3 separate regions of the Homo sapiens genome follow, and all the other regions are linked to region 2. Evidence: promoter capture Hi-C in 16 types of primary human blood cells and fetal thymus (Javierre and others, 2016). All regions are on one chromosome and are shown on one strand. Each heading gives the region's core, a stretch centred on a gene start or on the middle of the fragment in contact. The rest is flanking DNA. Distances are from core to core; before and after follow the strand shown.

The links. The method cuts DNA at HindIII sites, captures the fragments that hold promoters and counts their contacts. A CHiCAGO score of 5 or more calls a contact.
Region 1: a contact is called between a fragment that was not itself captured here and the fragment with the promoter of ITGA1 in region 2, in 2 of 17 cell types (total B cells and total CD8 T cells). The highest score is 5.5, in total B cells.
Region 3: a fragment that was not itself captured here is called in contact with the fragment with the promoter of ITGA1 in region 2 in 1 of 17 cell types (M0 macrophages); the score reaches 6.0 in M0 macrophages.

The regions. Positions count from the first base shown.
Region 1 is chr5:54,313,190-54,318,002 of GRCh38, forward strand. No RefSeq gene overlaps it. Among named protein-coding and RNA genes, the nearest start is that of ARL15, 5.0 kb to the left of the region's middle. RefSeq lists a cis regulatory region at 145-492. The HindIII fragment of the contact is 4,389 bases long and covers 1-3,996 here.
Region 2 is chr5:52,785,717-52,790,484 of GRCh38, forward strand. It overlaps ITGA1 (integrin subunit alpha 1), which reads left to right and starts at 2,200. Exons shown (of 29, transcript NM_181501.2): 1 at 2,200-2,698. The coding sequence starts at 2,638. It overlaps PELO (pelota mRNA surveillance and ribosome rescue factor), which reads left to right and starts at 2,200. Exons shown (of 3, transcript NM_015946.5): 1 at 2,200-2,698. All of the region lies in intron 1 of PELO-AS1 (PELO antisense RNA 1), which reads right to left. RefSeq lists an enhancer at 1,888-2,167. The HindIII fragment of the contact is 1,585 bases long and covers 1,841-3,425 here.
Region 3 is chr5:50,955,360-50,959,531 of GRCh38, forward strand. No RefSeq gene overlaps it. Among named protein-coding and RNA genes, the nearest start is that of LINC02106, 13 kb to the right of the region's middle. The HindIII fragment of the contact is 3,894 bases long and covers 40-3,933 here.

The sequences.
Region 1 (4,813 bases), core at 552-3,051, 1.5 Mb after region 2:
CTACCCACTACATGAAGCTGCAGTCATAGCTGATAGGGTTGGTAGCACCTATTGAGGTAATCACCTCAATACATGCTTTTTAAAAGAGTGTAGAGAAGTTAGAATGCATTTAATCAACCTACCATACTGTATGCCAAGTAACAGACTGCAATCCAGAACAAGACATGATCTCATTAACCTAGTTCTGCCCTTGCTGTCAGTGAAAAGAATGACCCTCTTCCAGATGCGGAAGAAACATGTAAACTCATGAGGCAATTGCATTAGTGCATAGGTTTTGAGGAAAGAGGCTGATACGGTTTGGCTGTGACCCCACCCAGATCTCATCTTGAATTCCCACGTGTTGTGGGAGGGACCCGGTGGGAGGAAGTTGAGTCAAGGGGGCGAGTCTTTCCCATGCTGTCCTCATGATAGTGGTAAGTCTCATGAGATCTGATGGTTTTATTAGGAGGAATTTCCCTGCACAAGCTCTCATTCTCTCTTGCCTGCCGCCATGTAAGACATGTCTTTGCTCCTGCTTCACCTTCTGCCATGATCATGAGGCATCCCCAGCCATGTGGAACTGTAAGTCCATTAAACCTCTTTCTTTTCTAAATTGCCCAGGTTCAGGTATGTCTTTATCAACAGCGTGAAAACAGACTAATACAGAGGCCATCACTGTTGCTTGTCAAAAGCAAAGAGAAATTATTTTGACAGTCCATACTCTAAAATTCCATAAAGGCTGCTGGCTAGCCAAATTTGGAGGAAAATTTTTTGTTAAACTGTCACTTGCAAGGAATGAAAACAGAAATGCATTTTTGCAACTTGGTCTCCCAACTTTCCAGAAAAATCAACATATTAGTGGTTATTTCCAGCTATTCTTTTGTTGTTTCCAAGGAGAATACTGCCTTCACTAGTTTTGTATCATGCATACACTATCTCACTGAAACTTTTCATAAATCTTTAATGGATACATAAAACTATTGTAAAAATGTACTACTGTGTTAACAAATCCTTTATTAGTTACTACTATTATAAATATTACAGTGAATGTTTGCTTATAAAACTATCCACATCTTATTATCCTAAGAATAATTTCTAGTAATAGAATTACTGGTACAAAGAGTATGAGCACTTCTTTTCTTTTTTTTTTTTTTTTTTTGAGATGGAGTCTCGCTCTGTTGCCAGGCTGGAGTGCAGTGGCACAATCTTGGCTCACTGCAACTTCCGCCTCCCGGGTTCAAGTGATTCTCCTCCCTCAGCCTCCTGAGTAGCTGGGACTACAGGCACACGTGACCACACCCAGCTAATTTTGTATCTTTTTTTAGTAGAGACGGGGTTTCACCATGTTGGCCAGGATGGTCTTGATCTCCTGACCTCGTGATCCGCCTGCCTCAGCCTCCCAAAGTGCTGGGATTACAGGCGTGAGCTATCACGCCCAGCTGAGCACTTTTAATACTCAGTTTTGACCTAGCTTATGTAGTCTTCTTCCTTCTACCCCCCAGCTCCAAAGTAGGGAATGATTATCTTGTCTCATCTTTGCCTTAATATTATTCCTTAATAGCTGAAAGATGGTATCTTTCATTATAATGACTCTTAAATCATGGACACTTCTTTTTCAGAAAAAGTGGTCAGCTCTGCAGAGGTCATCAGGCACTTTTTCTCACTTACCACATCCAATAACTCCTGTGACTTTAAAATTCTCTTCTGAGTCCTTTTTCCCTTTCTCTCCAGTGGATACCTTGACACCCACCTCTGATTTACCCCAGTCCTCTTCTCTGCTTCCTAAACCTAAATGAAGTATCACTGTGTCCCAGAAGATGAACTTCATCAGAACAGGGTGTCCCCACATGAAGCCGCTAACAGAGCTTGATTCATAAATGGAATCAAGCCAATGATTATTGAATGAGGTCAGAGGTTGGAATTAGAGTAGGGTTTTCTGCTCTTAGCATGGTGACCTACTTGCAACTCAAACTAGAGGAACCCCTCACTGAAATAGCTAAGTCTGAAGTTTTTAATCTAAAATATCTCCATGTCAGTTTAAACCTGTTTTCTCTCCTGCAGGTAGATCTTAAGGCCTTGTATGTCTATTTTTCAAAGATCAGTCCTGGCAGTCAAGATGAAGATTTGTAACTACTTAACTAGATGAGCTTGGACAGGTCACCTGTTCCTTCCAGGCTCCTGTTTACTCAGCCAGGGGATAGAGTTCAACTAATCCCTACCATGATTAAGGGTCACTCACCTTTTCCAAAAAGGGCTTTGCTGGGTCTTGGGGTTTTAAAGCAAGATAAGACATCCACTGAAAATGGTAAATATACGAGGGAAAGATAACTAGATCTCACAAGCAACCACCATTCAAGCACCAAATATCAAGAAGCTGTGTAAATCCCTCTCAATACCAACCCCAGCAAGTTCATTTAATCTCTTAGATACATTTCTACATTGCTGATTGTATTAATTTCCTATTCTGCAAGCCAGTTATGAGCCTTATGGAACTAAAATAAAGGTGTTGGAAGAGCTAAAAGAGTTAATAGATAGATGGAGGCCATTAGTGAATCACACTCATTGCAATTGGGCAGCAAGTCCTTTCTTGAATTGTGAATCTCCTTTTCTGCCACACACGTGTGTCTGAATCTCCCTCAACAGCCTGGCTTGACACCTTGCATGTAGCCCTGGCACCACTAAAGATTGATTGGTTGCTTAGAGCATAGACCTCACTATTTACAGCCAGCCTCATTGTGTCAATATGTCACTGCCTGAGCATACTTGTTAGTACTTCCTGACACAGTCAGCTCCAAGTGAAGGAGAAAAATCAACAAATCCATTAGGCCTCATGATCACCATGCTGAAATCTCACAGCAAAAATCACAGATAAAATACCCTTCCCAAGATCACACATTAAGTAACAGAGCTAAGGACTTTCCTTCCATAACCCTGGAATATCTATTTCTTCCCTATACTACTATGGAAGTGACAAGATCTTGGGATCAGTGTGACAAGAAAATAAAGCAGGCCTAGAGTCTACCACGGAGAAACTTCCGCTTATTAGAAATAACAGGACAAAGAAAGGCGAATAGACAAAGCCCTTCCCGATACAAATGTGCACACAGTCAACCTGGTGCCAGAGGAGTTACTAAAGTGTTTAAGGGATGAGAACTCAGTGAGGGTTTGCCAAAGTTTCTGGAGTTCTAATAGAACTCTCCAAGAAAGAAAAAATTTATCTTGGAGGATTTGTGAGGGGAACTTTCCAGATGGGAAAACAGCATATAAAGAATCAATAGCAACAAATTGGGGATGAGGCATTACATACTTAAAAGAAGATGAGTGTTTGAGCCCAAGGTATAGGAGGTATAGACAGTTTAGTTTGGGGAAGTCTAACTGGTGCAAATCAGGGTTCAGCTAGGAGCTTCTCTGCAGATTATTGCTTCCCAACTCCCCATGTGGTGTTGGTGGAAGTTGATTTGCAGCTCCATCCAGTGTAATTGCTCCCTCATTCTGGTCCCTAAGACTGGCATAAAGATGTGCCAACTACAGAGGGAAGCAAATCCCAAAAAAGTGTTTGGGCACTTGCTTTCTTGCCTGCTTCTTATGAGATCATCACCTATTGGGATAATATAGAAACTATTCAAATTGCTTTCTTGTAGGTATTCCACTGAAAGTTGGAAACATCTTGAATGCCCGTGATTTATAATTTTGATCTCTTCTTTCAAGGCTTACATATAAGGAAGCCTTAATCCAAGCTGGCAATTGATTCAAGGCAGCTTGCAAGGAAACGAGAAACTCAGAAACAAGAAACTATAAAATAAAGCCAATGAAAAAAGTGGCTATCATATACCATCTAGATAATAATGCTTCCTATCTCATCCAGACTTGAGATTCTGACTCTATGCTGTTTAAATTGAGAAAGACAGGCATGTAGGTACTCTGGGCAGGCTAATATGGATTCATGCATTCTACATACCTATTTAACACCTACTATATATTAGGGATGCTAGAGAAATATTATCCCTGCTCACATAAAGCTTAGTCTCTAGTGATTGGAGACAGGAAAGATATCAACTAGTGATAAGTGCTATACAGAATTAAAGAGATGTGCTGGCGAGTAACAGGGAAGCATACTCTAGACAGGTAGTCGTGGATGGCATCTCTGGGTTGTGCTAAGTGATACAGTCCAATAAAACTTTCTGTAATGATGGAAATGGCCTATACTTGTACTGCCCAGTATGGTAGCCATTAGCTACACATGGCTATTGAGAACTAGAAATGCAGGTAGTGGATACTGTATTGAACAATGAAGGTATGCAGTAAAAATATGAATGGAGGTCTTCCACTTAAACATGACATATTAAATATACTTGCTTATCTCCCCCACCCTCACCCCCACAGGCCAGTAAAGGAATAAAAAAGATCCACCAAGACAGAGAATTAAAGGAGAGACTCCAGCATATAAGAGGTCAACCATTTAGGAAAACAGAAAGTGGATACAGAAGTGGCAACTGACGTAGCGGAACAGAGAAAGCTGAAGGCTAAGTTCAAGAGGCGGGGGAAGCCAGCAAGAAACAAGCTGATTCCTGTTGCAGAACTCTCATCAGCTCAGCAATAAGCACCACCTGGTTCTCTGAGGTGGGAAATTAAATAAACAGCTATTTAAAAGCCATCATGTGGAAGCACCGTGCCAGACAAGTTTACCAAGTTCTACCAAACATTCCCTAAACAAAATGTCCCAACTTGAAACTATTCCAGGGTAGAGAAGGAGGGAGTGCTTGCCAGGTCATCTCAAACAACTATAATAATCTTGATACCTGATCAAGGACATCAATAATTATATATCAGTCTC
Region 2 (4,768 bases), core at 950-3,449:
TCAAGTCTCATTTAAAATAGAAAAGTATGTAGTATAAAGTCTAGAGCTGAAACATTTGTCATCAAGTGTCTCATATCAATAACTAGTTTGTGACTCTGGGCAAGTTTCTGTCTTCTCTAAATCTTTACTCAATGACATGTCTTTCTGTCAGTCAGAATAAAATTGGTTAAGAAAATAACCGGCTTGACATTTATTTGTATTTGGGTTTATTGAAGTTCAGAAAATAAGCACTGATTCTAAAATTAATTCTCTAACCATAGTTATCTCTCAGTCTCTACATTTGTATTGACTAGACATATAAAAGATTCATAAATATGTAAACATGTAAACATAAAATTTGTAACTTGTGAAAATTAATTGTAACAATATCACTGTTAGTGATGGTTATCACCAATAATTTGTAAGTCCTAGAGGAAATAAAAATATTAAAATTGAAATTATATATTAGCCCCCAGAAGAAAGGTAAATTTCCCAGTAATTGTAAACTTGAACATATTATATGTTAACCCTACTTTATTTCAATATTTTACAATTTCTTTTTGTTTTTTCTAATGAAATATATTGCAATTTGCTAAAATGCCATATATGTATTTGCATATGTATGTATATGCTGTACATATATATGTACACATACATACATACACATGATTGTGTATATATAGACACACTATTATATGTTTTTGAAAACTAAGCAATTTGGAGAAATATCATTGGGAAAGTACTTACTATGATTTTTAAATGTCTACGAATTAATCAATATCTATTGGTTACTGTTCAAAGCACAGAGAGTCATACTGAGAGGCATAAGACATAACTGATACTACCAACAGGGAAACGAGATATACACAGGAAATGAATTCCTTGGCAGGGTATGAGAGCATTGAACACAAACAAAGGAACTTAAGTAAAGTCCAATGGGATTGAACTGTGACCCAACATAATACAATTTTTCTAGAGACTCATTTGTGTAAATTTGAAGACAGAACTGAGAAATGACATTATAAAAACTAAAAACGGGAGAACGAGATTTTTAATGTATTTACTAAATAGTGAATCAGTTCAGATACATAATAGAAAAGGAATTTCTTGATTAATGGGTCAACATACTGAGATCTGATGGCCTTCAACCTCCTTGGGTCTGCCCACCCCATTTTTGACGCTCCTTAAACTTCTTCAACTTTTGTCTTCTCCAGCTTTTAGTTGCTGTGATCCTCTATCTGGCAATGTATCCAGTGAACCCTGTGGGCTTCTTCCTTCCTGTCCCTCGTGTTACCTGTTCTGTGCTACCTGTGTTGCGTTCTGCTCAACGAACCCTCCTTTGGGTGGCACTCTTGTCCTGCCTAGCCCTAGTTCTGCTAGAGATGCTCAATTAGTTGTTGAGTTGAAGAATTGAATTGAACTGTTTCCCTCAGATTCCTCTAAACACAAATCCACTTATTCTTTCTGTCTTTGAAATTCTCAAAACCGCTAAGACACAGCTATTTTGAAAATAGCCAGCATTGGTTGAAGCTAGGGTGAATATGGCTTTTGACTCAGAGAGGTTGTTCAACTCACCAGGAAAGGGAAGCATTGCAAGTTCCTAAGCACTTCTGGACTCTTAATGCATTTTCACTCGTGAAAGTTTCAAGCAAGAAAAAAATAAAGTAGTGCCCCGAGTTCTTTATTAGATTCAATTACCAGCGTACAAACATCCTAATTCACTTAAACAAAATAGCCCACACACATTCCATTTCCAAGGAGGCTGCTTTTCTTCCTCTCTTCCCTTCTCGCTCTCCCTCTTACTGTTTTTCCTCCGTCTTGCTTCTCCTTTTCTCCCCTTATCCTAGTTATCTCAAAGAAAAGCTTATCTGCAACCACCCTTTAACCACGAATTACCATAAACGAAGCAACCCCCCCACCCCCCCATAAGCGAAAGCAAAGCCCTCAGTGGAGCCTGTCGGGGTGGTGGGGACGCCCCCTTTCGTGCAAAACGACTTCACGGTGAATTTCAAGTGTCCGCAGGGGATGGAAGGGGGGATTCCAGATCCTCGCATTTTCACAGACGGCCTAATCCCTCTGCGCAATGGACCCGGGAAAGCTGCCTCCCGTTAAGGGCGCCCAGGCACTGTCAAAGCGCCCTCCCTGCCCGGGCCGGGAGAAGTAAGGGGTGTGAAGGCGGAGCCACTGGGCTGGCAACACCCTCCCGAAGGTCCAGCCCTTACCCGCCTTCCTACCACCTTAGGGGATTTGGCCCGGAGAACGAGATCACCCTCTCAATGAAAGGCAGATGTCCCTTTAAGGTTTGCTTCTACAGCCCGTGGACTTTAGCCTAAACACGGACCCGCGAAGCTGGCTTTATTTGTCCATGTCTCGGACAGAGCCTGGGAAGCTGCCAGTGAGATTTCAGAGACCAAGAGCGCGAAGGGGCGGGCGATGTGGCAATCCGTCTGGGATGTGAAAAGCGTGGAGCGCATTTAGAGGAATTCGACGAAAACACAGGAAATCACTCCTCTCCCGCTCCTGGGCGCCGCTGCCACTGGGGCAGAGGACTGGGAACCGCGGCAGCGGGATAAGTGGCCCAGCCAGAGAGCGCAGCTCCCGCGCCCGGTCCTGCCCTGCGAACCAGCGCGGCCCCCTGGCGCTGAGGCTGCTCCGGCCATGGCCCCTCGGCCCCGCGCCCGCCCAGGGGTCGCTGTCGCCTGCTGCTGGCTCCTCACTGGTGAGCGACTCGCTTTTCTCTGAGCATCTCCTGCTCGCGGGCTTGGGGCTTGGAGCGGGGAGGGAGGTCCTCAGAGCCATGGGCCAGATAGGAAGAGAGAGCGCCCATCCACTTTCGGGCATTCCAGGTACTCAGGCCAGGCTACGGGGCAGGCAGGAGTTTCGCGTTCTGGTTTTGATATGAATTAGTTTTCGTGTCTCTCCAAAGTCCTTCACCCTAGGAGTAGGAGTGAGGCAGCACTGAAAACCTTAGAAGGTAGAATTCACTTTTAAAATTAAAGTTGTTTTTACAATACACATTGTATATTAGGACTTTGCTGAATATTTCCTCCCCTCCACCCTTTTTTATGGCATGGGATGGGAGGGTGATGCTTATAGGGCGCCTGATACATATGCAAAATTCCTACCCTCGGGTTGTTCCAGAGTGGACATTATTGAATTTTCTTGCTGTCTACTATTTAGGCTTTTTTCCCATGCAGAACAAGAAAAGGCAGGGATGCAAGACGAAACTGCCACTTGTTCCAAAATGATGTTTCTATGTCAGCACCCAAGAGGAGGGATATTTTGAAACGTAGAAAGGAATGGTGAACATTTTCTCTGTAAATATCACAGGGCAGTCTACTTTTAAGATGCAAAATATAGTATTGTTATTTGTACATAAATGTGTATTTTTAAGGAGGGGACTTAAAAACATAGTGGAAATGCAAAGTTGTATCCAATTTAGAAAAAGCTTGAAATATAGCATTTTGTAAGATTTTCCCAATAATGAACTCATGGTCAGATCTTTTTTACCAGTTACTGATTGGGGTGGGGGAAAGTTGAAATGGTGAAAAATGGAAGAAGGTGGGGGGAAAGTGTATCGATAGAATCTCTGTGTGAAAGAAAATCACCTTATTAATGGGTTAATTAACAGCTGGCTTTAACATATCATTGATATTCAATTGTTCAGTGTTTTTACTGCTGGCATGGTTATTAGTACTAGTTAATTTAGCATTTTTACCACTAAAAACAGGGTAGAGCCAGCTAGTTTAGACCTGCCTTAGATGGCCAAGCATTGTTAAGTTTTATGAAGATGATTTAGAAGTTGATTATCAGCAAGCAGAGCTTTTTTCAGAAGGGAGGTAATGTAAAGAGAGTTAATAATTAGCTACTGGCTTTTCATCCAAACATTTCCCACTACTCAGGAAATGTCCAATAATCCAAACAGTGGTAACTGCTGAACAGCATTATAGCCGGTGAGTGGTTTAACTTACCAGCTACTGCCACTACTTTTTACACATATTTGACCTATGATTCTTCTCCAACTCAAATTTTTTTAGATTGTATTTTGTTGTTTTTGTGCAAAATCTGAATACAGTAGTTTACTATCCAAGTTGTACTTTTTCATTCTACCAAATAAGCAGTCTCTAGAGTAGAAATGATGAAATGAGGTTTGCGTATCCTCTAAAAAGACAAGAGTGAAACTTGAAGTAACAGAGAAGTTTAACAAGTTACAATTTCATATATATGTTGGTGAAATATACATTGGTGAATCCAGGAAGAGACTTAAAATATTTAGAAACCTTGTGTGCACTATATTTATGCCCATTTCGCAACACATGAGGGATCTGAAATTGGACTGCTTTCCCATCAGTCATTATATTCTGTAGGCTCTTCTTTAGCAATCTCTTTCAGATTTGGAAACTTCTCATCAATTCAGAGTCCGTTTGTAACCTGGGGACTCATCACCATACTTATCCATGCACACTACTGTAGAGCTTATCTTTCTGTCTTCAATTTGAACCCAACTTCCAGTCTACCCTCCTAATACATCATTTTTACTATATCTGTTTTTAGTCAAAAATCTTTGGTGGTTCTTTGTTGCCTTTAAGATAAAATCCAAAATTCTCAACTGACTGCCCTAATCCAACACCCTCTCTCTATCTCCTACTACTCCTATGTCAGTTTCTTATTGCTGTTGTAACAACTTGCCATAGATCACCAGCTTAAAACAACATAAATTTACTATTGTACAGTTCTGTAGGTCAGAAGTATCACTGGGCTAGAATCAAGATGTCACCAGGGCTGCATT
Region 3 (4,172 bases), core at 737-3,236, 1.8 Mb before region 2:
TAGAGAGCATTCAGAGATGAGGCTGTTCTACCAGGGCCAAGCTTGGTGTTGTCTGCCTAGTGAGCATGAACAGGATAGGGCAACAGCCAGAGAATTAACCAATCTCATCTTCACCAAAATGGCTGGGTTTTTCTATGTGCATGTTCAAGTGTAGAGAATTGCTTTTCTATTTTCCATGCAGTTTGGAATGTATGACGTGTGTTTGTAACAAGGAAGCCAGATACAAGGTTAGATCATGAAAAGACAGTGAGGTGGAATCCAAGAAGGCTCCTCTTGATCTGCAGCGAAGAGTGACATGTTGTGATACTCTTCATAGCACAGGAAAAACATCACAGCAACATTTCTGAGTGAATGGGGTCTATGAAGAACAATTTCAGGCACTAGATATCATTTCTGATTTTGAGGCTCGTACAGTCCTATTCTTTGCAGGTAAGTGCAGTGGAATGATTTAATCTTATCCCTGACATGTACTAACTCTGGGACTCTGGGCAAGTTCACATAGCTCACTCTCAGTTTCTTTTTCTCACTTCAGATAATGGGGATAAAAATGCCCATCTTAAACTGCCATTATGAGGATTAAATGCATATTTTCCCTCCCTCTTGCTTCCTGGAATTCCTGTCTTTTTACCTCTGCCCCTAATGATGAACAGTCTGCCGGTGCTGAAGGATGTCACTTCCTCCTGGAAACCATATGACATGCCATCAAAGACTGGGTCAACTCTCTCTCCTATGTACTTCCAAATAGAGCTCTGTGCTTACCCCTGTCATAACTCTTAACATCCAGCAATTCATTTCATGAATTCTAGTAGAAAAATGAGTGTGTTCCAGGCACTGTCCTAGGGTCTGGAAACAAAGCAACGAATAAAATTGGAGAGGTCTCCACCCTTGTGTTTTGAACTCTCTAGTAGGCAAAAGAGACAATTAATAAGCAAGCAAATAAGATGAATGTAATTCCACAGAGTGATAGGCCCATAAGGAATTAAAGAACGTGGTAGGAATGAGAGTGACTCTTGAGGAGAGCCTGGTTTTAAAAGGTCGATGAGTCTCAAAATAAATATATTAAAAAGGCCGATGGGAAAATTCCAGTCAAGGACATGACATTTGAGCTGAAATCTGGATATTGAGAAGTAGCTACGTATATAATCTAAATACCAGGCACCTTTATAAGCACTCCCAGTGTATTAATTCATTTTATCTGCACAACAACATATTGAAGTAAATGCTCTTCTTATTCCTAATTCACAGATGAGACAACAAAGGTCCAAGGGTGAAGTAACTTGCACAAGATTACAGGGCTAGCAAGTAGCAGAATTTGTATTCAACCCAAATAGGCTGTCTTCAAAGTCCATATTTCCAAGCACTGTGTTGTAACTGCCTCTCAAAAGCATTTGATATTGCATCAACCTTGACTTTTTACTTGTATGTTTCTCCTACTGGACAGTAAATTAGTTTATGGTTAGTACTCAGTCCCAAGAATGCCCAGCTCTTAGTGTGTGTGTGTGTGCGTGTGTGTATATATATATATATTTATTTATTTTTTCCTTTTGGTCTGAGAAAGGGTCTTGCTCTGTTGCCCAGGCTGGAATACAATGGCGCAACCATAGCTCACTGCAGCCTCAACCTCCCAGGCTCAAACAATCCTCTCACCTCAGCCTCTCTAGTAGCTGGGACCAAAAGCAAACAACATCACACCTCGCTAATTTTTAAGTTTTTTGTAAACATAAGATCTCCCTGTGTTGCCCAAGCTGGTCTCAAACTCCTGGGCTCAAGCGATTGCTCCTGCCTCAGCCTCCCAAAGTGCTGGGTTTACAGTTTTGAGCCACCTTAGTACAATCTTAATAAGTATTTATCAAATTAATTCATGATTTTAATGAGCAAATATATATGACATGAAGGATCTCACTTAGTGCTTAGCATCAGATAAGTGATTAACATGTTAATTCTTCCTCCCTCCCTCCCTTCCTAATTCCCTGAGTTAGATTCATATATCCTGCTGCTGCACTAAAAGTACCTGGAAGATTTATAGAGGAAGGGTGGGGGGCTGTCTTCATAACATATCAAAGAAGAAATTAGAAGAAGTTTTTCAGTTTGTTAGCAAAAGATGGAAAAGTAACTTCAGTGAGCTCTGAAGAAAAACATGTGCAAGCAAGGAGCTTGTAAAGTAATAAATTTCTGCCCTCCAGCACTAAAATGATGTCCTCTGTGCTTTAAGGAAAAGCAATTTGGAAAATTTCCACACATACACGTTTTGGGGAAAATGTAGGGAGAAATATAAAGTTAGTTAAATGTCTTTCATAGGCACTTCAAAGCCATGAACCATTAAATCATTTCCACAGCTTTTTGACTGTTATCAACCCCACCCCCAGAACATTGCCAAAATCACCCCTTTAAAGGTTGCAATAAATTTGAAAGCCAAATCAGATTTGGGAATGTTGCACAAAAGAGAACTATATCTTGTACTTTAGATACATTTTTTTTTTTAATATCAGCACAGAGCTACATCCTGCCAAAGATGAACTTGGAAGCAGTGACCTTTGCGGATGACTTCTCTTTGTTAGATTTTTGCCCTACAGGATTTTAGAAGCCTGGTCACAAGAACATTTGAGGATACCAGGTGGTTTTGAAATGCATGGTTGAGCTGGATGACTTATCTTGGCCTGAATGTAAATTTGGAAAAGGAGTTCTGTCATGAAGAAAGCGAATATTTGTACAAGAAGCATCAGCCGCAGTGTTCTCAAAAGTAACTGTAACCTTCCCGCTGCTGCTGCTGAGTTTGATGGAGAAAGATGGTGAGCTTAAGAAGAAAGCAAGAGATCATTCTCTGCATTTTTTTTACCCAGTGCTGTGTTGAATTTCTTTCTAGTTACAATTGTAAAGTGTCACAAACAAAAGTCATTTAGCCTATGCAACTTCTGCCATTAAGGTGTTGTCTCTAGAAAATGAACTACAATGTTAGCAGATGCTCCAGCAATGTTAGGGAGAGACCTCCCTGCTAAATGAATTACTGAGATGGGCACACTTATAAGAAAAAGGTAACATTTTATGCACTTAAACACCTAGCATTCACATAAAGGATTGAGGAACAGCATGTATTTAGTCTGTATTGTGAACCCAGTTTATAACTCCAAAGCTAGAGAACTGAGCCTGCTCAGTAATAAAGGAGCACAAAGGGAGTAAAGAAACAGCAAGGAAGCAACATTTACTGCAGCCCAACTCTCCTGACAGTGAGTGTGGCAGAAAGATGAGAGCAACCAAGCAACCAAGATACAAGCAACCAAGATACAAGCAACCAAGATAGCAAAGCGGAGGTTGGGCAGCTGGAAGCATGGAGTACAAATAAATGCTATTAATTCATTAGTGGACTGCAGTTACACATGGTGGCTCCAGCTTACAATTCTGGCCTCAACAACTTAAAGACTGATTTCCTCAACGACCAGCCTGCTGTTCTTGAAAGGAGAAAGAAATAGGATTTCTTAGGTTATTATGCTACTATGTCACACTAAGAGTGTGACAAAGGAAGTAAATTTCTACAAACATTAAATGCAGCTACTGGTTCGAAGGTCATGTTTAAGTGTGATCACTTGACAGGATCTGGCAATGCATCAGTTTTGTTATCTTTACCCACCCCTTACGTTAGAAAATACACCATCAACAATGGATAGCATTGACAGCTTTCATAAATGTAGGCTGAACAGCAGGTGGCAGCAAAGGATACTATAAGAAACACTTCCACTGGAATATCTGAGAAAATTCTAGAAAACTCATTTTCGTAGGATGCAGGTAGAGAAGGCCCTCAAAGATGATTGCTCTCTTACCTCTGGCTAAAGCACGTGATAGAAAAAGAAAGCTATTGGGAAGGTTGATCATGATAACTAAGTTTAAATGCTTTTCTGTCATTTTAATCACCTTTCCACTAAATGAAAGGATTGAAAAAGCTTACCAAAAGTTCAAGTATCCCACAGCAAAGCCCAGCTAATCCTCTTACAAAATGGACATGCATGCTGAAAAGAGATTTTTATAATAAGAAATGACATGCAATATTTATTATAAAATTATCATTCAGTCCAGTATGGAAATATGCCAGTTGGACGTTATCTGTCTCTTGGCTCAGAAGAAATATTAATGGAAGAATATTAACATCCTTCAAAGAAAGAAGGATATATGTAAAGAAA